Regions from separate parts of the Homo sapiens genome. Here all the other regions are linked to region 6. The links are contacts of gene promoters, found by promoter capture Hi-C in blood cells and fetal thymus (Javierre and others, 2016). All regions are on one chromosome and are shown on one strand. The core of a region is centred on a gene start or on the middle of the fragment in contact, and the rest is flanking DNA. Distances in the headings are between cores, read along the strand shown.

Evidence for each region. Contacts are between HindIII fragments. The CHiCAGO score rates a contact against its expected background, and 5 or more counts as called.
Region 1: a contact is called between a fragment that was not itself captured here and the fragment with the promoter of SLC36A4 in region 6, in 14 of 17 cell types (total CD4 T cells, monocytes, naive CD4 T cells and 11 more). The highest score is 16.0, in total CD4 T cells.
Region 2: a contact is called between a fragment that was not itself captured here and the fragment with the promoter of SLC36A4 in region 6, in 5 of 17 cell types (M0 macrophages, M2 macrophages, monocytes and 2 more). The highest score is 9.5, in M0 macrophages.
Region 3: a contact is called between a fragment that was not itself captured here and the fragment with the promoter of SLC36A4 in region 6, in 1 of 17 cell types (M0 macrophages). The highest score is 5.7, in M0 macrophages.
Region 4: a fragment that was not itself captured here is called in contact with the fragment with the promoter of SLC36A4 in region 6 in 3 of 17 cell types (fetal thymus, activated CD4 T cells and total CD4 T cells); the score reaches 7.1 in fetal thymus.
Region 5: a fragment that was not itself captured here is called in contact with the fragment with the promoter of SLC36A4 in region 6 in 5 of 17 cell types (total CD4 T cells, fetal thymus, monocytes and 2 more); the score reaches 6.2 in total CD4 T cells.
Region 7: a contact is called between a fragment that was not itself captured here and the fragment with the promoter of SLC36A4 in region 6, in 1 of 17 cell types (non-activated CD4 T cells). The highest score is 5.4, in non-activated CD4 T cells.

Annotation. Positions count from the first base shown.
Region 1 is chr11:93,640,993-93,644,748 of GRCh38, forward strand. No RefSeq gene overlaps it. Among named protein-coding and RNA genes, the nearest start is that of CEP295, 19 kb to the right of the region's middle. The HindIII fragment of the contact is 6,443 bases long and covers 1-3,756 here.
Region 2 is chr11:93,618,061-93,621,595 of GRCh38, forward strand. No RefSeq gene overlaps it. Among named protein-coding and RNA genes, the nearest start is that of CEP295, 42 kb to the right of the region's middle. The HindIII fragment of the contact is 1,041 bases long and covers 1,265-2,305 here.
Region 3 is chr11:93,497,071-93,500,452 of GRCh38, forward strand. SMCO4 (single-pass membrane protein with coiled-coil domains 4) reads right to left here. Exons shown (of 3, transcript NM_020179.3): 2 at 2,206-2,278. Among named protein-coding and RNA genes, the nearest start is that of SMCO4, 45 kb to the right of the region's middle. The HindIII fragment of the contact is 995 bases long and covers 1,560-2,554 here.
Region 4 is chr11:93,548,955-93,552,547 of GRCh38, forward strand. It overlaps a transcript of SMCO4 not described here. Among named protein-coding and RNA genes, the nearest start is that of SMCO4, 7.4 kb to the left of the region's middle. The HindIII fragment of the contact is 7,691 bases long and covers 1-3,593 here.
Region 5 is chr11:93,706,617-93,710,260 of GRCh38, forward strand. CEP295 (centrosomal protein 295) reads left to right here. Exons shown (of 30, transcript NM_033395.2): 18 at 129-281. Among named protein-coding and RNA genes, the nearest start is that of SNORA25, 22 kb to the right of the region's middle. The HindIII fragment of the contact is 2,535 bases long and covers 1-2,518 here.
Region 6 is chr11:93,196,616-93,200,277 of GRCh38, forward strand. SLC36A4 (solute carrier family 36 member 4) reads right to left here and starts at 1,376. Exons shown (of 11, transcript NM_152313.4): 1 at 1,163-1,376. The coding sequence starts at 1,217. RefSeq lists a silencer at 1,138-1,517. The HindIII fragment of the contact is 1,801 bases long and covers 193-1,993 here.
Region 7 is chr11:93,685,913-93,689,388 of GRCh38, forward strand. It overlaps CEP295 (centrosomal protein 295), which reads left to right. Exons shown (of 30, transcript NM_033395.2): 10 at 1,732-1,953. Among named protein-coding and RNA genes, the nearest start is that of CEP295, 26 kb to the left of the region's middle. The HindIII fragment of the contact is 3,336 bases long and covers 1-3,055 here.

The DNA of each region.
Region 1 (3,756 bases), core at 514-3,013, 440 kb after region 6:
ATGAGCCAGCCTAGAATCTGAATTTTAACCTGGATTTCTCAGAGGTGACTCCAAAGCCCATTAAAGTTTGAGAAGCCCTGTCTGACAGAATCATCTCATCAAAGCCTCCCAAACCAATATGGCAGTTATTAAAACAAACTCAGCCAGGAGCCATTACGGGACTAGGTCAGGACCACACAGTTAGTTACTGACAAGCTGAGATGGGTCCCACAGGCCCCAGATCTGCTGGTTTCAAAAGCAGAGCACTTTCCACCTCACAACATTGGCCCTGATGTAGGGTTGTTTGGGTTTTGTTTAAACAATCATTGAGGACACAGTGTCTATAATTTATTTTACATCTTCTGCACAAAGCAGCTTCTCGGGGATTATTCTTCACAGACTAACTGCAGATAGAAGTAAAAGAGAAAAGTTGTAAGAGACACACCATCCAGAAAATGAAGATGATGAAAAAAATTCTACTGATAAGGACCTTGACAAGAAAGCTGGAGAAAGGCTTTAATCTATGGATTTCTGGTAACCCTGGAAACCGGCACCTCTGAAGCACTGGGATAAAAATCCTCAAAGGACTGGGATGAAGATTAGTAACATCATTAGATAGATGGCAGACAGAGCCCTTTGAGAAATAAATCAATACCCATACAGATGCAGAATACCAATATAGGAACCTTCCCCCACCAGGTGATGCCCCGTGGCAAAACACTGTGGCCATGTCCTAGGTATACCAAACATCAGTGGCTTTGACAGATGATGTGGCCCTGCCATCTTGCACTTTCACCCGCCTGATCCAAACTCTAAGCACCAGCAGTCCAGGCCGTGCCAGAGGCTGAAGGAGCAGCACTACATGAAGAAAGATCACTGGATTGGGTATAGAGAAACTAATTAGGTAAGTCACTTAATCCCTCTGTCAGTTTCCACATCCATAAAATGGGGGATAATAAACCTGCACTGCCTCCATCATAGGCTTTTTGAGTATCAACAAAGTTAATCCACGTGAAAGTGCTTGGGAAATCATGAAGGCTGATGATAAATTATAACTAGTGTTACAATGACTAGTTTTTTCCTGACCATGCAGGCATAGACACCTGAGACCCAGATTCACAACTATCTTGAAGAAAAGTGGTACAGGGGCCAGGTGCGGTGCCCCACACCAATAATCCCAGCACTTTGGAAGGCTGAGGCAGGCAGATCACCTAAGGTCAGGAGTTCGAGACCAGCCTGGTCAACATGGCAAAACCCCATCTCTACTAAATACAAAAATTAGCCGGGTATGGTGGCAGGCGCCTGTAATCCCAGCTACTCAGGAGGCTGAGGTGTAAGAATAGCTTGAACCCAGGAGGCAGAGGTTGCAGTGAGCCGAGATTATGCCACTGCACTCCAGCCTGGGGGATAGATCAAGACTCTGTCTCAAAAAAAAAAAAAAAAAAAAAAAAAAAGAGAAGAAAAAAAAAGAAAAAGAAAAAGAAAAGAAAAGTGGTACAGTACTATGCAGAAGCCACCAGCAGCTGGGCTGCTTGAATTGTTTGTCAAGCTGGGTGCTCATAAATACAGGTTATTTAGAAGAGACTAGAAATAAACCAGGGAAGGGCCCCTAACAAAACAACTCCCCTACTGGCAAGCTGCATTGCCTCATATTGCACCATTACGGCAGTCTTTTCTTAGTTGAAGCATTGTCCTTGGGAAGATTTTAAATGCAAATTTTCCTAGGAAGAGTAACATATTGACTGGTTACCAGTCATTTATTCTGAGTTAGTCTATTCACAGATTCCTCAGGTAGTGCTCTTAAACAAGGAAATTAAACGGTAATTTCAATAGTGGGAAAAAGATTTGGGACACTGAGACAGGCCTTGAGAGGCAAATCTGGGTAGTACATGTATTGAGTGGGATGCAAGACGGCAGAGGAGGCACAGTTTCCAAACTCGTGAGATGAACACTAAATAAAGGAGCGGTAAAGACTGCTGAACCAAACTCACTTACACTTTTTCTCAAGGTCTAAAAGGGGAAGAATTGGATCCTGTGCTTCTTTGCCTAATCCAAGTTCCTGTTTGCACTGATTCTTTGTCTTTTCCTCTAGGTAGCAGAGTTTACCTTGATATTGCTCCAAGTAATAGAAAAACAAAGCTAATTTAACATTCTTGATTATTTCTCCTCATATATCACCATTTATCCCAGACAAGTAGCTATCTGCAAGGCTCTCCTAATGGGTTTTTTAAATCAAAAGTTCTTTAAAGTGGGTTGGAAGGCTTTTAATATAAATTAAAAGCCTTCAATATAAATTATTGGACTCATATAATAAGTCCAATATAAATTGGACTTATTATATAAGTCCAATATAAATTATCTATTTTAAGAAAGAAGTACTCGATGTCCAAAAATGATCCTCTTAAGGCCATAGACCTGGGAAATGTTCTAGAACCCTCACTGGTATAACATGCTGCCTCAGTTTCCCCAGGGTGATCAGTGTGGAGAGCAGAAAACAAGGCAATGAGGGTCAGCAAACACCAGATGGACAGCTCACACTACTCAGATGGACCCTAACAAGCTGTGTTCCCAAAGTCTGCACATTTGTGAACCTTTAAGCCAGCCAGCTCATCCATGTCCCAGCTAGCACCTATCAGGGAACACAAACTGCCCAGGGTGTCCATACAGTCCCACTTGATCCCACCCTTGCTCCGAATCCCTGTGCTCCTCAGTTCTGGTGGATTGTAGCCTTACTGGTCTTCCCTTTCATTTATGGCCCTGCTGTCATGCATTGTACTTGACCCCTGAATTTTGATCCCAAATGTGTTCCTCAAAACCCTCGACTCATTGCAGTAGACTAGATTTACTTGCCACCAAATATTCTGATTCTCCTTTCTGTGAGGATTATAGAAGCCTTCCCTGTTGAACTCCAGAGTAGCTAAGGCTGACATGGCCAGTGAAAAGTGAGAAGTGCCACTAGGAACCAGAGCATGGCTTGCCATCTCTTTTCCCCAGGTCTCAACAACAGGGAATGCTTCAGGAAGAGACTGGCCTATCAGCCTGGACTCAGCACAGAGATGTGGAACACAGCTGCAACTGGCCCATGCTGGAAATAGGAGTGAGAAATAAACTTTTATTGTTATAAATATTGATATTTGGGAGTCTCATTCGTTACTACAGCATAACTGATTCACACATCCTTGAATTCCTACCACATACAGCAACTTCATACAGACAGACTGCCAGGTTTGACTCCAGCCCCAACACACCTTGATCTTCAGAGAGGAAAGATAGGCCCAGGGAAAAGCATTGTGATTTTTGATGATTTCAGCACCTGGGTAGTGGTATGTCATGTCCTGAGACCTCTGATTTCATCTTTCTAAGTTAAAACCTTTAACAAAATCTCATCTCAGAACATATAATCCTACTTGATACTAGGGTCACCTTTGAATAAACTAAGCATTATCATATGGGAAGGCCGGGGTGGACTCTCATTACATGGATCTCTTTTAGACCTTATAAAACGAAATCAACCACGTAGCCTTCCCAGGCCATCCTTCTACTCGTTTAGTAAATTACCAAACTCGATACAATACTACAAAATTGAATTTCCAAAAACCCAGCCATAATCATTAGAGGTGTTATTTTTCTATGTCAAATTTTCTTCATGTATGGATTTCATTTCTTCTCTTTATCGCCTTCTCAACAATGTAAATAAGATTGTAAGGTCAGAAGAACGCTGCTCTAGAGTTTGACAACGTAGGTTTAATTATGCCACATTCCCCCATTGTACCCATG
Region 2 (3,535 bases), core at 535-3,034, 420 kb after region 6:
GAACTTTGGAGGGCCAAGGCAGGAGGATCACGTTAGCCCAGGAGTTTGAGACCGGCCTGAGCAACATACTGAGACCCCATCTCTACAAAAAGTTTAAAAATTAGCTGTGTATGGTGGTGCATGCCTGTAGTGCCAACTACTTGGGAGGCTAAGGCAGGAAGATTGCTTGAGCCCAGAAGTTCAGGGCTGCAGTGAGCCATGATCTTACCACTGTGCTCTAGCCTGGGCAACAGTGAGACCCTGTCTCAAAGAAGAAGAAGAAAAAAAAGACACCAACAACCTAGAGATAGTAACGTGGAAATACAGGAAGGACCCGGTCCTCCATGGCATTAAGCAAGGGTCCTGCACTGCTTATCTCTGGACTTCTTGTTATGGGAAAGAAACAAACCCTATTTGTCTAAGCTACTTTGGATGGGTTTTCCATATTTTGTGGCTGAACACATTCCCCAAACCATCCCTATACTAGCCCTTCAGTTCTCAGCTGAGGCATTACCTTGTCTGAGATCACCCCAAGCCTGGGTGACTGTATTAGCTTCCTAAAGCTACCGTAACAAATTGCCACAAATTCAGTGCCTTAAAACAACGTAAATTTATTACCTCATAGTCCAAGAGGCCAGAAGTCCTAAATCAAGGTGGCCATAGGGTTAGTTCCTTCTGGAGGCTCTGAAAGAGAAATCATCTCCCAGCTGCTCTCCTGGCTTCTAGCAGATCCCAGCAATTCTTGGTGTTCCTTGGCTATAGCTACATTACTCCAATCTGCGTCAGTCTTCATATGCCCTTCTTCCCTCTGTGTGTGTGTGTGTGTGTGTGTGTGTGTGTGTGTGTATGTGTTTGTGTGTTTCCCTTAAAAGGACACCAGTCATTTGATTTAGGGCCCTCCCTAACCCAGTATGACCTCATCTTAACTTGATTACATCTGCAAAGACCCTATTTCCAAATAAGGTCACATTCACGGTACTGGGGTTAGGACTTAAACATGTCATTTGTAGGGACACAATTCAACCCAACGCCCCCTTGGAGACCTGTACTTACCATGTTAGTCACACACCACACTCAATTCATTACACTATGAAGAGCCTATATAATGGGACTTCAGACTGGCTTCTTGTTTCAGCCATCTCACTAATTATTTTAATGATTTTTAGCTCTGCAATAACTCAGTTTCTTCATCAGTTATATGGAAATAAAAATACTTGCTTTGTCTACAAGGTTAACATGCAATGCCACTGAAATAATGTAGATGACACAGCCTTGAAAAACATAAAGCTTTTTTAAGAAGTGAGACCTTTTGGAATTCCTCTCCTTCTTCAACAGCATCCTCATTATTCACCTCGGATTTTTGAATTTTTAACCATGAAAAGGAAAATAGGAATGAGCTTGGGTAGCTGGGAACAGTAAGTAGAGACAAGTGAGCATTCAACCTATTTTCTGCTTGCAGAGGGTACCCCAAAGACAGGTCAGGGGGAAGCAGGAGAGGGGCTGGAGCATTATCAATTGGACCAGGGCTGGGCTCAAAGGAAATGGTCCTGAGATGGCAGGCTGATGGGCCACCAGGCAAGCCACCAGGCACTTCACAAGCTGCAACTTCAAATACAATCTACGTTCTCCAAATTTTATCTTTCGTATTTACCTGGACCTCACAGCCTTGCTATCATTCTTTAGGGGTTCTAAAAACACAAACTGTTTAAAACGTAAGAAAAATACAGTAAGCAATGTAATAAAAGCACTTGTTATTCCTACTCAGATTTAACATAGGATAATATTTTGCCACATTGAACCCAAATCCTTTTTAAGAAACAAAGCATAAAATACAATGAAGTCTTCGCTTTGTGATGCCAGTTCCCTCCCCCATTCCCATTGTTTTGAAGTTGGTGTGTATCCTCCTGTGGTTTTGATACGTTTCTGCATATGCAGGTAGCCATATTAAAAATATTTAATGTCATTCCCTGCATTTTAAAATTTTCATAAAAGCATCATTCTGTATATACACTGCACTTGCTTTTTTTACTCAGCATGACTTTGAGATTTATCCCTGTTGCTACATATAAATCTAGTTTATTCATTTTAACTACTAAATGTTATTACATTATATGAATAAACCACAGTTCATTTTTCTATTCCCCTACTGTGGAACAATTAGACTGTTTCTAATTTCTTTAATATTATAACCAATGCTTCAGTGAACAAACTTTTGCATTCCTCTTCATGCCTGTGTATGAGAGTTTCTCTAGATCTATCCATAACCAATAACCATACAAGTACTGGGCTGTAGGGTATTCACATCTTCAACTTCACATAAGTTTTAAGCTTTAATATAATTGGAGTTAATCAGTTTATTCAATATGTTTTGAGCTTTGGTGTCTAATTTAGGAAATACTCGTCTCCACTTAAGGTCCTAGAAATAATATCATATCCTCTTCACTTGTTTACATTTAAGCCTTTAATTCACCTGAAATTAATTTTTGTGTATGGTATGAAGTAGGAATCTAATTTTGTGCTTTTTCATATGTATGGCTGGTTGTCCAGAACCATTCTTCAAAGGGTCCATTCCTTCTGCATTTATTCATAACCCATCCTGCTGGTATAGCCATTCCTCCAAATGGTGGAGGCTAATCGTCAGCTCTTTGTACTTTCTAAATTCTTCAAAATTCTCTCCTGCCTGTTCTTGGCTAAGTACTTTCTTAAGGAAAAATTTTAACTGGGTGAGTCAAAGCTGTCAACTTAAAGGAGCAACATATTTGATGGAAGAAGTTTAACTAAAAACCTGTTAGTACCTTTTGTTAGTGAGCAGAAGGCAGGCTTAGAAAGAGTCTGAACATAAGAGACCTTCAGATAGGGAAAGGAAGCAGTGAGTCTTGACTGGTGTGGCCCAGGTCAGGGAAGACCTGAGGTGGGACATTCTGGAGGGCTAGATACTTGAGGAAAGTGGAGGCAGGATGCCCCATTCTGCACCTTTCACGGCTTGCTGCAGGGAACCCCTGCACTACTGGGTCTCTAAGCCTCAGATTCCTAATATGTAAAATGGGTATAACAATACCATCCTTCCCATGCTGTTTTCTAGAAGATAGAAATGATGCACCTAACATCACACCTAACACACACTAAGGGAGCACTTAATGAAGAGTAGCTATACTTGTTATCACTATCAATTATCATTGGTTTATCCAGATTCATTCAATAATACTGGCAATCCTCAATTTCCTGGAACAAACTTTTAAGCATCAGTTCAAATGCATTTTACCATTGTGTTGGATGTCTCCAAAAAGGGCTGTGTATTAGTCCGTTTTCACACTGCTATAAAGAAATAACTGAGACTGGGTAATTTAGAAAGGAAAAAGGTTTAATTGATTCACAGTTCTGCATGGCTGGGGAGGCCTCAGGAAACTTACAATCATGGCAGAAGGTGAAGGAGGCACAAGGCATGTCTTATATGGCAGCAGAAAAGAGAGGGAGAGAGTGGGGAAGTGCCACGCACTTATCAAACAACCAGATCTCACTCACTGCAAGTCCCTCCCTTGACACATGGGGATTACAA
Region 3 (3,382 bases), core at 807-3,306, 300 kb after region 6:
TGCTTTTAATAGCCCCCCTTCTAGAATAGAAGCTGGTTTTTTATTATGATGGTTCTATTTTCCCATTTCCCCATCAAAGGACAAATCAAAATGTCACCTGACAATCCACTTTCATTAAAAGTTGAGCAATTTTTTAAAAATCACAGTTAACTAAACAATTCCACATGGCAATAAAGCACTGTGCTCTGCTGCCTTGACTGATAGAAACCATTTGCAATGATTTAAAAGAGAAGGAAGCGAAAGAACATCATCAGATACAGCTGAATTAAGCTGATCAAACCTGTTAGTGTCTTCCAGTTTACTCAGAGTAAGACAATGCAGCATTCATGTAAGCTAATTAAATTTCTTGTATTTAAATTAGCCTTAACAAAAACAAAACTTTCAAGACTGACTGGAAGGTCTCAGGAGGAACATATCTGCTTTTTCAAGAAAGCTGCCTGGCTGAGGGTGGAGGGAGCACCAGGGTCAGACTCTCAACAGAAGGTCAAGACTCCCCTCCCTCAAAGGAACACTGAGGGTAGAGACGGTTCTGTGACACTGTTAGTTTGCCATGGCTTCCAAAGGGGGGTACCAAGATCAGATGGTTGGGGGGAACTGAACCCCATTCACATCAGTTCATGATGTTATGCAAGACATTGAACTTCTGAGCTTATTTCCCAACTTTGAAAATGAGAAGTTACCACTTGCCTCTGCCTGCTTCCCAGGACTGGTGGGAGAAGAAAATCTGCCGACGTGTGTCAAAGCACCTTGCAAAAGAGAAAGCACTCTACAAATGTGAGAGACAGTTGCTGGTTACTGTTAGGCAGAAAGGGCTGAGTCAAGTCTTCCAAGATGATGGTGACCAATTAAACTGATTTTCTTTTTTTTGAGAACTGTCAGTTGATTATTTATTTTGTATAAAAGTTACATTGAAAGAAGAGGTTGAAAAGTCAAGTATACTAGATTTGCACACACTTGCGAAGTCTCACAGGATTCAACCACTTGGATAATTTCTTAATTGATAACAGGATATACATATTAAAAGCCTCACACTGAAGCCCAATACACGTCAAACCCAGACAACAATGTGCAGATGAATACGCAAAACAATCTCTGGAAATTTGTATCTCTGGGAACACCCACAATCTATGCTTTGTCCCTCTGGCTATGATGCATAAACTCATAAAATTAATAAGAAACTTTTATGGGATCTTTAGCAGTTACAGTAAACAGTTTGAGAAAAGGAACCTGCTGACTTATTCATTTAAAGGACAAAGGTTGGGGGCAGGGAGGTGGGTTAAGACACAAAGTCACTGAGTGAAGCAGTCGAGAGCATGGCACAGATGGAGAAGGTGATCCACCTGTGCAGCAGATAGGAGGGGCTACAACCACAGCGAGACCTAAAGCCCCCCACATGCAACCCCCACTCACACCCGCCACAAGCGGAGAAGGGGGCTGGGGAGCTGTGCTCCAGTGACCACTGGCATCCAGCTCTGCCTGTCACCTCCCTCCCCACTTCTGGATTCCTGCTCTTAACATGGGTCCAAAATCAAATGTGAAAAAAAAGTATCAGATACAAAAGCTTTGCTATTAGCTTCATTTCACCAATAGCCAAAGGACACCTGGCGAAGATCAGGAATTTCGGATGAATGCTCAAAGATCATAATGTATTTAAGAATGATTCCTAGTACAGGCCCAGTAAGGGAGGCGTGGTGGGGGTACAATGTGGGTCCACACAGGAGCAGGCCTCTTGTGGAGAGGCTCCTTCATGAGTCATTCGAGAAACATTTATGGAATACCGACTGTGTCCCAGGCACAACTCAGATGCACCCTTAAGCAGCTTACTGGGGAAAACACAAAAACAGGCAACGAGAATAAAGCGTGGAAGTAAGTACTATGATGGGGGGTGTGTCACAGACCTCTACCCGACTGGCCAAGAGAGGAAGGGTGAGACCATCAGGGGAAGGGCAAACGAGAACACAAACATCACAGGAAGGAGAAAGTGTCGTGGGGGTTCAACAGCAGGAGAAATCACCCGCAGCCTGGAGGAGATCCTCCACAAAGGACAAAGGTGGCATTTGATAAAGATCTTGAGGGATGAAGAGGAACTTGGCCAGGCAGAGAGAAGGGGTAAAATATTACACACAAAACTAGGCATATGAGAGAAATGACTGGGACAGTAACCTCTCCCCAGACAATGAGTTTCCCTTATAAGAGAATGTTTACCTTTTCTTCAACTTCAAGAATCGTTGATTAATTTCAGCAAACTGATTTCCAGTACAGGTGACTTGAGTTATTCCTGTTGAGAAATTAGAAGAAAGGGTATAATAGCTGCTGGGGAGGTATCCCTCCACAGACTCCTTTTTTGGAACCCCCTCAGCCCATGCTGAGAGGGCAGTCACACGGTTCCCCTCTCCCAACTGGCTTAGGGATAGACACTTGTCACCGCCCTGCTCCAGAAGGGCAGACAGACAGATACACTGGCACATGTGTGCATGTGCGTGATGGACAGGACCAAGCAGCCCCTGCATGGAGTTAGAGGGGCCTTCCCACTCCTGTGCCCAGCAGGCAGTCAAGCTTTGCTTCCTGTATTCCTGGGATTTCTACAACAAACTCGCTGCTAACTTAAGCCGCCATGAGACCATGGCTGTTCCCTGCAATCAAAAATCACTGATTTAAAAATGAAGGATACAGGTTTGGGATTAGAAAAGAAACAAACGCGGAAGGTGAAGGAACAGAGGCTTTTAAACCAAAGCCTTGGGAAAAATAAAAGATGAGAAAGTGACCCAGGCATCCGAACTACCGTCCCATAACATCAGAGAGGAAAGGAAGAGAGATGTGTGACAGCCACAGAGGACAGCCAACAAATTAACTCAAAACCTCAGTGGCATTAAATATTAAGTTGGAAGCCCAGATACTGGGGGAAAGGAGCTTTTAGTATGGGTATTACCCATAAAGCAAAATAAATAAGAGTTCCCTTGAAAGTAAAAAGGTGGGAGACTCCAAAAAGTGTCCATAACAAGCAAGACATAATTGAGTAATGGTACAATGCCTATCATTACTAAAATACGTAAAGATAAATCTTGGTTTACCGTGCTTTTTGTTTTGTTTCAAACAAACATTTCATTTCAAGGTATGGTGGGTCAGCAATCAGTGCTGAGTTCAGCTGGGCTTTTTCTTCTGGTCTTGCCTGGCTTATGTATGTGGCTATAGGCATCTGGTTGCTCCACTGGGCCAGATGGTCTCAGATGACTTTGTTCATGTTAGTGGTTGGTACTGGCTGCTGTGCTGCCTTCATATTCTCTTGCAGTAAATGTAAACAGTTGTTGTTTTTTTATTCCCAAAGAGCTTCACAGATGTATGCCCGACCTCTATCCTCGCCATATTTTTCCATTAGTTCCTG
Region 4 (3,593 bases), core at 1,084-3,583, 350 kb after region 6:
ACTCTATGCGTATGAAGAGGTTATTTCCTGTCATAGCTGAAGTAGAGTTACAGAGTTATTTACTTGGTCGTAGAAAGTTGGGGTTTTTCCGTTTGATTTGCTTCTAGGAAGTCCTTAGTTTTCCTGCCCTGAGACTCTATTCCCCTGCCTTATGGTCAGTGGCCATGAGTGTGTGTGTACACTCACATGCATGTGTGTGTACTTATGGCAGGGAGAGTCCTTGGGTGTCCCCAACACTCTTCCACCGTAGGGGAGCTACTTAACCCTAAGAGGAGATATTGTTCTTAATCCCTGTTTTACAAAGAAGGAAAATAAGACTTAGAACGTTTAAGCAATTCACCCCAAGCCTGGTTAAATACAAAGTTCAAATACTTAATTAACCTTAACCTCTTTGGTCATAGTTCAGGTGCTTGATTGGTGTTACCTGAAGTTAAATCTGATATGAATTCCCAGAAGCCAACATTATGGAAAGACTTTTCTAGAACTAGGAAAGAGGTAAAAAAAATTTTTTTGAGTCAGGGTCTCACTCTGTTGCCCAGGCTGGAGTGCAGTGGCACAATCACATCTCACTGCAGCTTCAACCTCCTGGGCTCAAACGATCCTCCTGCCTCAGCCTCCCCAGTAGCTTGGACCACAGGCATGCACCACCATGCTTAACTAATTTATTTATTTTTTTTTTTTTTATGTTGAGACAAGGTCTCACTATGTTGCCCAGGCTGTTCTTGAACTCCTGGGCTCAAGTGATCCTTCCACCTCAGCCTCCCGAAGTGCTGTGATTACAGACACAAACCATCATGTTTGGCCAAGAGGTAAAACTTACCCTCCCTAAGTTAAGAGGGAAAACTACCAGCTTCTTGGATTTAAGAAGCCGTAGAGCTTGAAGTCCTGTACATTTATGTAAGTATCAAGTGTTATAATAAAAATGTCTTTTTCTCACTGGTAGTAATTCTTTTAAAGACTTCAAACAAAATTATACCTATTCTTGGAAATTAAGTAAGCATGCCCATTTTCATAAAGCTGTGAAATCCCATATAAGGAAAAGTTTTAAGATCTCTGCTTTCGTTTGAAAAAAGCACCAGAGCGCTACTGAAAAGTTCAACCCAAATCTTCATGCTTACTGCCCTGTTTTCTGAAATTTAAGTCTCTAGCTAAAGAATGGGAAGGAATTCCTACTCTACCCCTGCTGCCGGCAACCAAAGCATGCTCTCAAGCCAAGAACACCAGTGAACCCTTTAAATTTCTCCACAACTTTCTCCCTGCTGGCAAATGTCAAGTTTCTATTTCAAAAGAAATAAGAGCGTCATTAACATGCCTGTCTTCATGCTCTTCTAACTCCTTTCAGAATTTTGGGGGGTTTTGCTTGAGAAAGTAAGACCACACTAAAATCACAACTCCCCAGGGTGTATCATTAAAGGTGGAACTCGGCCAGGCATGGTGCCTCATGCCTGTAATCCCAACAATTTGGGAGACTGAGGTAGGAGGACCGCTTGAGCTCAGGAGTTCGAGATCAGCCTGGGCAACATGGTGAAACCGCATCTCTACAAAAAATTTTAAAAAATTAAAAAATAAAAATAGCCAGGCGTGGTGGCACACCCTGGTAGTCCCAGCTACTTGGGGGGCTGAGGCAGGAGGAGCACTTGAGCTCAGGAATTTGAGGCTACAGTGAGCTGTTATCGCACCATTGCACTCCAGCCTGGGTGACAGTGAGACCCTGAATTTTTTTTATTTTTATTTTTATTTTATTTTTTCAGGGAAAGTATGTGGCAGAGAAGAAAAAACAAAAATGGAACTGTTGGTGTGTTTAGAAGGGAGCAGGGGAGCTCCACTTTTATTCCATAGGCTGTAAATAGCCCACTATCATTTTTAAATCCCAAAGTAAAAAATAACACTTAATTACCTTAACTTTCAAACCTATAACCACAAGATCTTCATTAGTGACTCATATACCAGCTGTACCTTTTGGTCTGGCACATTTTTTAACATCAAAGGTGTTTCCTATCAACTATGTCTTTTTCCCCAAGGGAGCTTCATCTTTATCAGAAAGCAATGAGAACGTTTCTAGTCTATACTTAACTCTTCAATCACTTCACATGTATTTACGGAACACCTAGTACATGCAGGCAATTTATCGAGTTGTGTGAATATAAAAGCAAAAAAGACATATACTCCTTTCCTTCCCTAGAGAAACTCACAGATCAGTGGAGAGAAAAAATGTATATAATTACAAATTTTACAAATGATGTTAAGCGTGCTGAAGAGAAAGAACAAGGTTCTATGAGAAAGTTTTATAAAGAGAACAAGTTTTATATTGAAAGGTCAGAGAAGACCTTTCTGGAAGTGATCTGAAAGTTTGACCAAAGAGATGAACAGGTATTGGCCCAGTGAGGAACCTCCTGGGGACGTGGTCCTCCTCACCCAAGGCTTCTCTATGTCTCGGACAATGATCAGGACAAGAAGTGCAACTTCTCGGTGCATCATTGCTTTCAGAGAGGAGTCTTGGGGCCCTGTCTCCCCAGAGGTGCAGAGGCAAGACAGGGAGTCCCCAGCTTCTTCCACAGGGGCTTCCTTCTCTATCCAACCCACACTCTGCTCTCTGAATTCCTGACTCCCCTCAGCTGCAGCACTTAGGTGAGTATTTTACTCCAGGTGAGTATTTTGCTAGTTCCTGTGCATATGCAGTCTCTGCACCTAAACTGTCAGTGCCTGGAGAGCGGATGGCTCTATCTAACTCTCCTTTTTTAATGCTCATAGTGTCTACAAGAGAACTTGATTCATAGCCACCATTCAACAAACACCTGTTTAATGGGATTGAATTTTCAGCATTTAGTAGTGTACTAAACATCTGATGTGAAATAAGAGCCAAATTAGGCAAAGTAAGCATGATTTAGAAGTGCAGAGATGGAAAGAAAATGGTATGAAGAGCATTGGTGTAGAAGTACTTCCTGAAACTTGAAGGAATCCATCTGGTATCGCTTTGATTGACTTTGTTAAGGACACAATTCCTAGGTTCTGAGACTCCTCAACTCTAAGATGCAACAGTCATTGAACAACAGTTTACTTTTTGAGGGGTGAAAAATGGCTGCTTTCAATGTTTACATATATTGAGAGCCATAGAGCCATATTCTGACTTTGGAAACACTAAAATGTTTCCAAAAAGTATGTTTTATAATTTAAAAAAAAGTCAGTACTCATCACTACTTTTTTTTTTTTTTTTTTTTTTGAGACACAGTTTCACTCTGTCGCTCAGGCTGAAGTGCAGTGGCACAATCTCGGCTCACTGCAATCTCCTCCTCCAGGGTTCAAGCCTTCCAAGTAATTGGGATTACAGGCATGCACCACCACAGCCAGCTAATTTTTGTATTTTTAGTAGAGATGGGGTTTCACCCTGTTGGCCAGGCTGGTTTCAAACTCCCAGCCTCAGGTGATCCACCCACCTCGGCCTCCCAAAGTGCTGGGATTACAGGCGTAGGCCACCGTGCCCAGCCACGTTATTATTATTATTATTATTATTATTATTATTATTATTATTATTTTTGAGACAGAGTCTCGATCTGTTCCCCAGGCTGTAGTACAATGGCGTGATCTCGGCTCAC
Region 5 (3,644 bases), core at 1-2,500, 510 kb after region 6:
TAAGGAATTATTGCTATATACAGTAAGTCTTTAAGAGCTTAGATTTCTACCCATAATATAAATTGGCACTTTAGTTCTAGCTATTAATAGTTCCAGAAATTGAAGTGGAAATATTTTTTCCCCCCCAGGTAAACCAGGTATTTATGAAGACAGAGACCCCCTGCGAGTCTCAATAAGCCGAGAACAAAGTTTCTTTGGGAGCCCACTGGCCCATGATCCGTTTAGTTGTCTTCAACTGGTTGGCCAAGAGAATGTCTGTGGTGATGACTATGATGAAGCAGGTGAGAAATAAATGGAAAGTGGAATTGTATGCACAAGGATATGTGGACAAAAGATATTTATTATTTTGTTATTTGTAATGGTGAAAAATGGTAAATAAACTTAGTTACTGCTGTTAATGGAATCGTTATGATGCAGTTAACTATATTGTTCTATGCAGTTGTTAAATGAGTAATTTTGCTTTTAAATTGTTTTATTAAATGCCAGTAAGAAGTTTATCAAGGTAGGAGTTTTATACAATTGGCAGCATCCATAAATTTTATGTTTAAGCCTATTTGTAACAATCCATATCTAATTAAATACTGTTAAATATTTTAAAAATTCTATCTGTGGGCATTCTAAATAAGCTGTTTTATGTTTATTTTTAAATATTTGGAAAAATAAAGATAATTAGAAGGAAAAATATTTAAATCACTTAATCCTAACACCCAAAGACAGCCAATGTTAATCTTCTCGCTTCTGAATTTATATATGTATATATATATAGCACAGGATATTTTATATATAATTTGTGTACTGATCCTACAAAGTATAGTTGTAGTACTATTTTATTAGTTGTAAGGCATCTTTTAAGAAGTTACATTTTGGCCGGGTGCAGTGGCTCACATCTGTAATCCTAGCACTTTGGGAGGCCAAGACTGGCAGATCATGAGGTCAGAAGATTGAGACCACGGCTAACACCGTGAAACCCTGTCTATACTAAAAATACAAAAAATTGGCCGGGTGTAGTGGTGGTCACCTGTAGTCCTGTAGGGAGGCAGGAGAATGGCGTGAACCTGGGAGGTAGAGCTTGCAGTGAGCCGAGATCAAGCCACTGCACTCCAGCCTGGGCGACAGAGCGAGACTCCGAGACTCCATCTGAAAAAAAAAAAGAAGAAGTTACATTTTATAGCCAGATTTATTTTTATTTTAGCTGTACACCTAGTAAGATAATTTACTTGTATCTATACAAGATACCTTACTTGTATCTATAGTTGAGTGGAATGAGAGATGAAGGAAAGGGATATTCTTTTGAGGGTTTATTAAAAAATTGACTTTAACATCTCTTTAAATTGTGGATTAAAATAACTGTAAAGGATATAATTTTCAGTGAGCTATAATTTTTGACATTTTAAAATAAAACAGATTATTCTTTTTTTAATTTTTAATTTTTGTGGCTACATAGTAGGTGTATCTATTTATGGGGTATATGGGATAGTTTGATACTGGTATACAATGTGTAATATTCACATCATGGTAAATGGGGTATCCATCACCTCAAGCATTTATACTTTATTACAAACAATTCAATTATAGTTTTAGTTATTGCAAAATGTACAAAGAAATTATTCACTATAGTCACCCTGTTTTGCTATCTAACTGCTTATTTGTGCCCATTAACCATCCCCACTCCCCCAACGACCCCCAACTACGCTTCCCAGCCTCTGATAACCTTTGTTCTACTCTCTATCTCCGTGAGTTCAGTTGTCTTAATTTTGAGTTCCCACAAATAAGTGAGAACATGTGAAGTTTGTCTTTCTGTGTATGGCTTATTTCACTTAACATAATAACCTCCAGTTCCATCCATGTTATTGCAAATGACATGATTTTGTTCCTTTTTATGGCTGAATTGTACTCCATTGTGATACGTGCCACTTTTTTTTTATCCATTTGTTTGTTGATGGACACTTAGGTTGCTTCCAAATCTTGGCTATTGTGAACAGTGCTGCAGTCAACATGGGAGTGCAGATATCTCCTCAGTGTACTGATTTACTTTCTTTTGAGTATATACCTAGCAGCAGGATTGCCGAATCATATGGTAGTAATATTTTTAGTTTTTTGAGGAACCTCCAAACTGCTCTTCATAGTGGCTGTACTGATTTACATTCCCACCAACGGTGTTCCCTTCTCACCACATCTTTGCAAAACATTCATTATTACCTGTCTTAGATAAAAGCCATTTTAACTGGACTGGCAGGATATCTCAAAGTAGTTTTGATTAGCATTTCTCTAATGATCACTGGTGTTGATTGAGCACCTTTTCATTTGCCTGTTTGCCATTTGTATTTCTTCTGAGAAATGTCTGTTTGGATTTTTTGCCCATTTTTTAATCAGGTAATTAGATTTTTTCCTACAGAGTTGTTTGAGCTCCTTATATATTCTAGTTATGAATCCCTTGTCAGATGGGTAATTACAAACATTTTCTCCCATCCTATTGGTTGTCTCTTCACTTTATTGATTGTTTCATTTGCTTTGCAAAAGCTTTTTAATTTGATGTGATTCCATTTGTCCATTTTTGCTTTGGTTTCCTGTGCTTGTGGGGTATTGCTCAAGAAATCCTTTGCCCAGACCAGTGACCTGGAGGGTTTCCCCAATGTTTTCTTTTAGTAGTTTCAAATTTGAGGCCTTAGATTTAAATCTTTAATCCATTTTGGTTTGATTTTTGTATATGGTGAGGGATAGGGTCTAGTTTTATTCTTCCATATGTGGGTATCCAGTCTTCCCAGCACCATTTACTGAAGAGACTCTCTATTCCCCCATGTACGTTCTTGGCACCTTTCTCAAAACTGAGTACACAGTAAATGTATGAAATTGTTCCTGTGTTCTCTATTCTGTTCCATTGATCTGTGTGTGTCTCTTTTTATGCTAGTACCATGCTGTTTTGATTACTGTTGCTCTGTAGTATAATTTGAAGTTAGGTAGATTCCTCCAGTTTTGTTCTTTTTGCTCAGGATAGCTTTGGCTATTCTGGGTCTTTTGTGGTTCCATATAAATTTTAAGATTTTTTTTCTATTTCTATGAAGAATATCATTGGTATTTTGATAGGGATTGCATTGAATCTGCAGATTGCTTTGGGTAGTATGGACATTTTAATAATGTTGAGATTCTTCCAATCCAGGAACATGGAATATCTTTCCATTTTTTGTGTGTCCTCTTTAATTTCTTCCATCAATCTTTTACAAGTTTCATTGTAGAAATCTTTCACTTCTTTGGTTAATTCCTAGGTATTTAATTTTCTTTGTAGCTGTTGTAAATGGGATTACTTTCTTGATTTCTTTTCAGGTGATTTGCTTTTGGCATATAGAAATGCTACTGGTTTTTGTATGTTGATTTTGTATCCTGCAACCGTACTGAATTTATCAGTTATAATAGTTTTCTTGTGGAGTCTTTAGGTTTTTTCCAGATATAAGCTCGTATCAAAGGATAATTTGACTTCTTCCTTTCCAACTTGGATGCTCTTTATTTCCTTGTCTTGTGCGATTGCTCTAGCTAGGACTTCCAGTACCATTAATATGTTGAGTAACAGTGGTGAAAGCAGGCATCCTTGTGTTTCAGATCTTAGAGGAAAGGCTTTCAGGTTTTCCCCCATTTGGTATGATACTAGC
Region 6 (3,662 bases), core at 126-2,625:
GCCTCAGCCTCCCAAAGTGCTGGGATTACAGGCGTGAGCCACCGCGCCAGGCCGATATGTACATTTTTAAGGCTAAATATATTATCCCTTTCCTGCCAGCAATGCATGAGAATACCCATTTCTCCATATCCTCACTAAGACAGGTTATTAATGAATGAAACCTGAGTTCACATTTGGGTTCTGCCATTAATAAGCTTAAAATTACTGTATCTATAAAATGGAAATCATGATAGCACCTATCTCAGTTGCTGTGAGGATTAAAGACAATGCATAGGTAAAGCACTTAGCACAGTGTTTGCACACAGTAAGCACGCAATAAAATGTTAAGTTTATTGTTTCTACCATTATTACGGCCTGAAAACAATTCCATTGCAAAGTGCCCTGCAGGCTATTAGAGGAATAACAACAACCTATCAGTTACTTATAATACGGTATTTTTTAAAGTTCAACGGTTTTCTTGAAGATTCCATTTAGATTTAATTTTTTAATTACATTTAATCAGCATCGAATGAAAAATACTCCCAAGTACAGTACGTATAACTGGGAGAGCGATCATTTTACCACCCTGATCCTTACTTTTTTATTTTGGACAGCGGGAAACCGTAAACAAACACGCCCTGTCGCCAAGAAACAAGATGGGAGGAAAGCAGCAAAAAACAAACAAACTTTGCCAAGTGAGCAAGCTACAGGTATCTCCTGTTCATTCTGGTCAGCACGACCTGTTCGAAACTCTGGGATAACAAGGAGTAAAATGAGGATTCATCTGGAGATTCCGAATGGGGCTGCAGCATTTGAAAAGCAGAACAATGATAACTTCCTTAAAGCATCATTGGGAAAAAAACCGTGAGTCACGGCGCAGGCTCTTGCGTCTTTGACGTGTACCCACAGGGCCCCGCCCCACTCAACACACACACTCACCCACACGCGCGCGCGCAAACACACACACACATATTTTAACGCCCTATTCAGGCCTGGGCTTCGTCTGACCAAGTTCTCGGGGTCAGATAACCGGTTCCTTTGCGGATGCTGACCACGGGGTCAGTTAGCAATCGGGCCTCAACTCAGGCCAAGCGCGGGGCCCCTGGAGGTGTGGGCGCACCCGACTCCCGCACAGACCCCCGCCCACGTCAGCCCCGGCTCCCTGCCCACGCACAACACCGACCTAGCTCCTCGCGCCTCGCCGCCCCGGCAGCCGCCGGCGTCGCCGCCGCTTCCATCTCTCGCGGGTCTCCAGGACGCCGCCGCCCGAGTGCTCACTCTCCCGCCGCTGCGTGGCCGGCGTCAGGCCCAGGCCTACCTCCCCTGCCCGGAGGGACCCGCGCCTGGTGCCCGCCTCCCTGCCCCGGCGCTCCCCAACCGCGCGGCGAGGAGCATGCGCAGTGGGACAGCCCGGCTCGGCGGGCACCGCCGGCGAGGGGCGGGAGGGGCCGAAGACCCGAGGACTGCTGCGAGGCCGGGTTGGGTAACCCGAGAGGAGGGTTGGGTAACCTGAGATCAGCGAGGGTGGGACCTTAGAGCTAGCCGAGACCCGGGCCCATAGCTCCCTGGGGGTTTTAAAGATGACGGCGAACTTAAATTTGGGGCGCCTGTCCGTATGCAAGGCGTTAGCGTTCTGTAAGTCACCTTGGAGAATGCGAAGAAGGACGGGATTTGTCCCCTACCCATGCTGAGGTTCTGACTACTCTGGTTATTCGTCTCCCTGTTTCTATAGTTAGAGTTACAGGAGACACTTAAATAGAATTTAATTAAGTCATATACAATTTCACTTTCAGGATATTTCAATGTCCTTCCAGATATTTGACGTTGACCGTGGTGCTGAAAGAAAATTAAGGTAAAGACTAAGTGTACTGATGTAGTTTCAAGTACTCCTAAGCACCATACATACATTATCTTTAATTCTGACTACAATTTGTGAGATAATTCTAATATTTACATTAACGCTAAAGATGAAGGGATTAAGGCACGGAGGTAAGTAACGTGTCTGGGGACAGGAAGCTTGTACATGGCAGAAGTAGAATCCTTCTGCCTTCAGAGCTGGAGCTCTCGAAAAATATGCAAAGCTGGCCTCCCAGATGGGTACCAATGAATATTCGATGAATCAATGGATGAAGCAAGCTTTTGGTTTAAAAGGAAAATATTTATTTTAATTTTAAAATCGCTTTCTTTTTTTTTTCACTTCATAGTTCTTGGAAGTCAGTACACCAGACAATCCTTTTTATTTGTGTCCGTTTCATTCAGTGGGGTTGCTTTAGGAAAGGGTTTTTTTGGGGGGGAGTGGGTCTGATTAACAGTCACTGATGTAACTATATGGCAATGGTGTTAAATATTTAAAATTCTGAGATTAAAAAGGTACGCAGTTACATACTATCTACATCTTTCCTCCTGTTGCATCCTCTGTAGGCTTTCACTAGATAACTAGTGATAATGACAGTTTGCCAACCCCCTTTCTTTTCCTTTAAGTGAACCCAATTTGTTCACATACATACACATGCAAATCCCAAAAGAAGGTTTTATTTGAAGTGTTCCTGACAAATAAAGGGGTAAAGGAGATTTTTTTTAAAAAAGAAGAAGAAGAAGAAATCTATTCTGGAACATAGCTAGAGCAATGTTCCCTAACCTGTGTTGGGGTGGATCACCTGGTTAAAGATCAGCAGGAGAGAAGATAGGCATCAGACAGAAATTATAGGACCAAGGTAATTTTCCATAAACCACTCATTATAATGAGAACATGTGGGACAGCATCTTAAAAGAACATTATCCTTTGAGAGTTAAAAGGGATCAAAAGTCATTGTCCCCTAATCTCAGCTTCAGGGAAAGCAGATCTGGCAATATGGAAGGAAGAAAAGTTTGACTTGTAGTATAGGCCTGAAATCTTTTGAAGAGGGTTGGGCTGAGGTAGGAGGCCCAATGTCTTTACAGTGATGTGGAGATAAAGCAAGTGATAACAATGATCATAAGATTCAAGAGAAATATGTTTTTCATGCATCTCTACTTGAGAACATATTTACTAGGACTTCTACTCCAGGTCTTATAAATTAGAAGCAGATATAAAGTACAGCTGTATCAAAATAGAGACATTATACAGAATGTGACAATTTGAACCCTGGAAATTCATTTCTTTTCCTGACTTTAACTTCTTGCATCACATCTTAACTACTTCCTTCTTTGCAACTGCAGCACTTTGTTCGTATCTCTGTTACAACACTTCTCCACTTATAATTATTCCTCTTTCTGGGCTTTATACTATGCTGTATACTATTATGTGCAAGGCACTGTGCTAGGCCTGTTGAGGAATTAACTGTATTTGTCTTTGTCCAAACAGGCCTAGCACAGTGACTTACAAATACCAGTCACTCAATGAACAGTTGTTGAAAGTTACTGAATATAGCCTCATAGGTATATGAAAGGAAACATTTAGAAGTCTTTAATGTATTCAAGCACATTTTACGGAGCACCTTCCATATATCAGGAAGTATGCTAGATGCTGGGGCTAGAAGGGCAAATAATGTTGGTATGGTCCCTACTGTCATGGAGTTCATAGTATATAGCATGTGACAGAACAGAACAAAACAAAATACTAAATATGTCATTACAATTGTTGGTTAGGAAAATAACAGGGTACCACCACGGAACCTACTTTAGATTGAGAAGGTGGGATAGTC
Region 7 (3,476 bases), core at 138-2,637, 490 kb after region 6:
GTTGGCCAGGCTGGTCTCGAACTCCTGACCTTGTGACCCGCCCACCTCTGCCTCCCAAAGTGCTGGGATTACAGGCATGAGCCACCATGCCCGGCCAGCAGTGTCTTTAAAAAGATATTCTTACAGCCAGGTGCGGTGACTCATGCCTGTAATCCCAGCACTTTGGGAGGCCAAGGTGGGAGGATCATTTGAGTTCAGGAATTCAAGACCACCCTGGCCAACATGGTGAAACCCTGTCTCTACCAAAAATACAAAAATTAGCCGGGTGTAGTGGCGCTCACCTGTAATCCCAGCTACATGGGAGGCTGAGGCAGGATAATCGCTTGAACCTGGGAGACAAAGGCTGCAGTGAGCCGAAACCACACCACTGCACTCCAGCCTGGGCAACAAGAGTGAAACTCCATCTTAAAAAAAAAAAAGATATTTTTACTCTTTCATGCAGCTTTTTCAGTTATTTTCATTGGGAGTATCAATATCTAGTTTGTCACAATGGAAGTCTTGCCCAATCTAAAGGGACAGTTACACTTTAGCTCCTGCTGATCTCATTTGGTCTTATTGGCTTGGTGTTGCCAAGTTGTTTGTTTGTTTGTTTGAAGCTAGAAATCTCATTGTTTTTAAAAATCCTTACTTTTAAATATTGGCAATGAATTTACTTCTTAAAAATGAGTGGGTTGTGGACTAATGGTAAATGAAAGAAGCCAGGCAGAAAATAATACCTAAATGTGTGATTCCATGTTTATATGAAGGTTTTAAAAAAACAGGCAAAACTAATCTGTGATCTTGGGGTTAAAGTAGGGGCTGTTTTTAGGGGTGTATTGACTGGGAAGGGACATGAAGGAACCTTAGTCCTGGTAATGTTCCACATGATCTGAAAGGTGGTACATTGACATATGTGAAATTCAGTAAGCTATACACTTAGGTTTTTGTGCACCTTGTTCTTTGTGAATTATAACTCAATTGGAATTTTTTTTAATATAAGTTAGACAAAACTACAATCTGCCTATTTTCAACCTCTTAAAGATATTCTTAAATTTTATTCCTTGACTAAGCCAGAGAAATATGTACTTGCATCACACTTTTGTCCTCTTAGAGAACTGTTCGTATTATACTGAGTTTTGGCATTAAACTATCAGCCCACATGGGAAAATGTTTGAAGAAATACTTGTGTTGTTTTTTTGTTTTTGTTTTTAACTGAAGGGATCTCTGTGTGAAGATGGGTGGGAGACATTTTTCCCAGATAGTGCCAAGAATAATTTGGGAGCAGTTGATTTGCTTTTATGGCTATGATGTTTTCCTCTGTAGCTCACTAAGAAATACAGAGCCATATTTGGGACCATTCTCTAGTGTAGACTATAGAACCTCACAGCATATATTTTCAATACTAATCTTACCAGCAAATTAATTAGAAGTTACACATTCATTTATCATTTAGCAAGCAAAATAAACATCTTCCTGATAAGTTTTTTAGGCTTGATATTTGTGTTGCATACATGTTTTTGGAAAATACTTGAATTTTGGCACTTTTACTATTTTCAGTTGAAAAAATTATTTCTAGTTATAATGATTGGAGTCAGATAGCATTGTTGTATATACTGTTAAATCGTAAATATGAGGAAAATAAAACTGTGCTTTTAACTAGTGGTTATAGCAGTAACCGAATATAAGATGGAACAATTTGCCTGGTAATACAATAGATGCTAAATAAGTTTTTTCCCTTTTTCTTTCTTTTAGTTCCCTTGGTAATGAAGACCCAACAGATTCCTTCAAAAGTTCTTTTTAAAAAATTATTAAATAAGATCCGAAGCCAAAAATCTCTCTGGACAATTAAATCTATGTCTGAGGATGAAAGTGAAATGATTACGACTGTTAGTGAAATTGAGAGTAAAGCACCAACGGTTGAGTCAGGAACAATTGCCAGCAAAGAGAGAACGTTATCCTCTGGGCAGGAACAAGGTATTTCTCTCCAAGAGTCTCATTTTCTATAAACCCTTTTAAGTTGTTCAAAAGTAGGTTCGTTTCTGAAAAATCAAAGAATAGAGGTTAAAAGGAACAAAACATAATCCTGCTAATTAAAAGCAACAAAGAAACATTATAAAAGCCTTAGTGAATCTTCTTCCGGACCACTTTTAATCTAGTATAGTTATTTATATATATTAATTGCAAAGTAATCAATGAATCAAAATTAACCAGTTCCTTATTGAGATGTTCAGGCTGTTTTCTAATTTTTCTTGGCATTTTTGTGCTACAGTGGGCATCCTTTTAGTGAAGTCTTTGCCCACATCTTTATTTCCTTAGGAAGGACTCTTTAAAGAATAACTCCTGATCAAAGGATATATGAGCATGTTAATGGCTTTTGAGCGTGTTGTATTCCCACTAGGTATTTAGTTTCTTATTTGCTAATTTTAAATACTTTTCTGATTGGAAAAATAGGCTATTAACTATATTTCCAGAAGTTACAAAGTATCTTTTCACACACAATTCAAGTATCTCCTTGATTGGGATGATTTTAAAAATGTGATTGGATTTGTATAGAAATGTTTTGCTTCTATGCTTTTGATAAGAGTGACTTGTGGTCTATATTTGGGTTTTGGATTTTATCCTGAGTCCCACAGGAAGCCTTCTTGAAGTATTTTCTTCCCTTGGCCCCTTGACAGCACCTTCACTTGGTTTTCGTACTTTACTATTTTCTCTTGCATTTTCTTCGCTGTTTATCCACATCTCCATAATGACTAACCATTGTTAGTCGTTGGTTAGTCTACAGCTCATTCCGCAAGTCCCTTCTCTTTATATCAAAACTCCCTAGTTGATCTCAAATGTCACACTTTACATTATCATCTGTAAACTGATGTCTCCCAAGTATGCATTTCTATTTTTGGCCTCCTGTTTGAACTCACCTTACTTATTTAACTGTTTCCTTCTCTTGTATATCTAATAATATCTTAAATTTCTTCAGAAGTGACCTGTTGATATCCCCTCCCACCACATACCTGCTTTTCCTACAGTATTCCACATTTCAGTATCTGGCAATATGTTAATTCCCTTGCTCAAGCCAAAAAGCTTATAGTCATTCTGGTTCCCTCTTTTCATATCTTATGTATCTTATGTCCAAACTATTAGCTGATCCAGTTGGTCCTACCCTCAAAATATATCCATAGTCCAACCATTTCTTTCCACCTACATCCTAGCTTAAGCCATGTTCATTTCCTAGGGTAGATTCTTGTAGTAGCCTGCTATCATCAGCCTTTGCACCTCCCTGTTATTGTCTATTAACATAGTGGTCCTCTTAAAAACAAGTAATCTCATGTCATTTCTTTGGATGAAGCCCTCCAGTAACTGTCAGTTTCACTCAGTAAAAACCAGAGAGTTTATAGTGGTTTCAAAGCCTTATGTGACCTGCACACATACACCCCCACCACCACTACTCCCATACTCACTACCTCTCTGACTTCATTTGCCTGCCACACCTCCCTACCCAT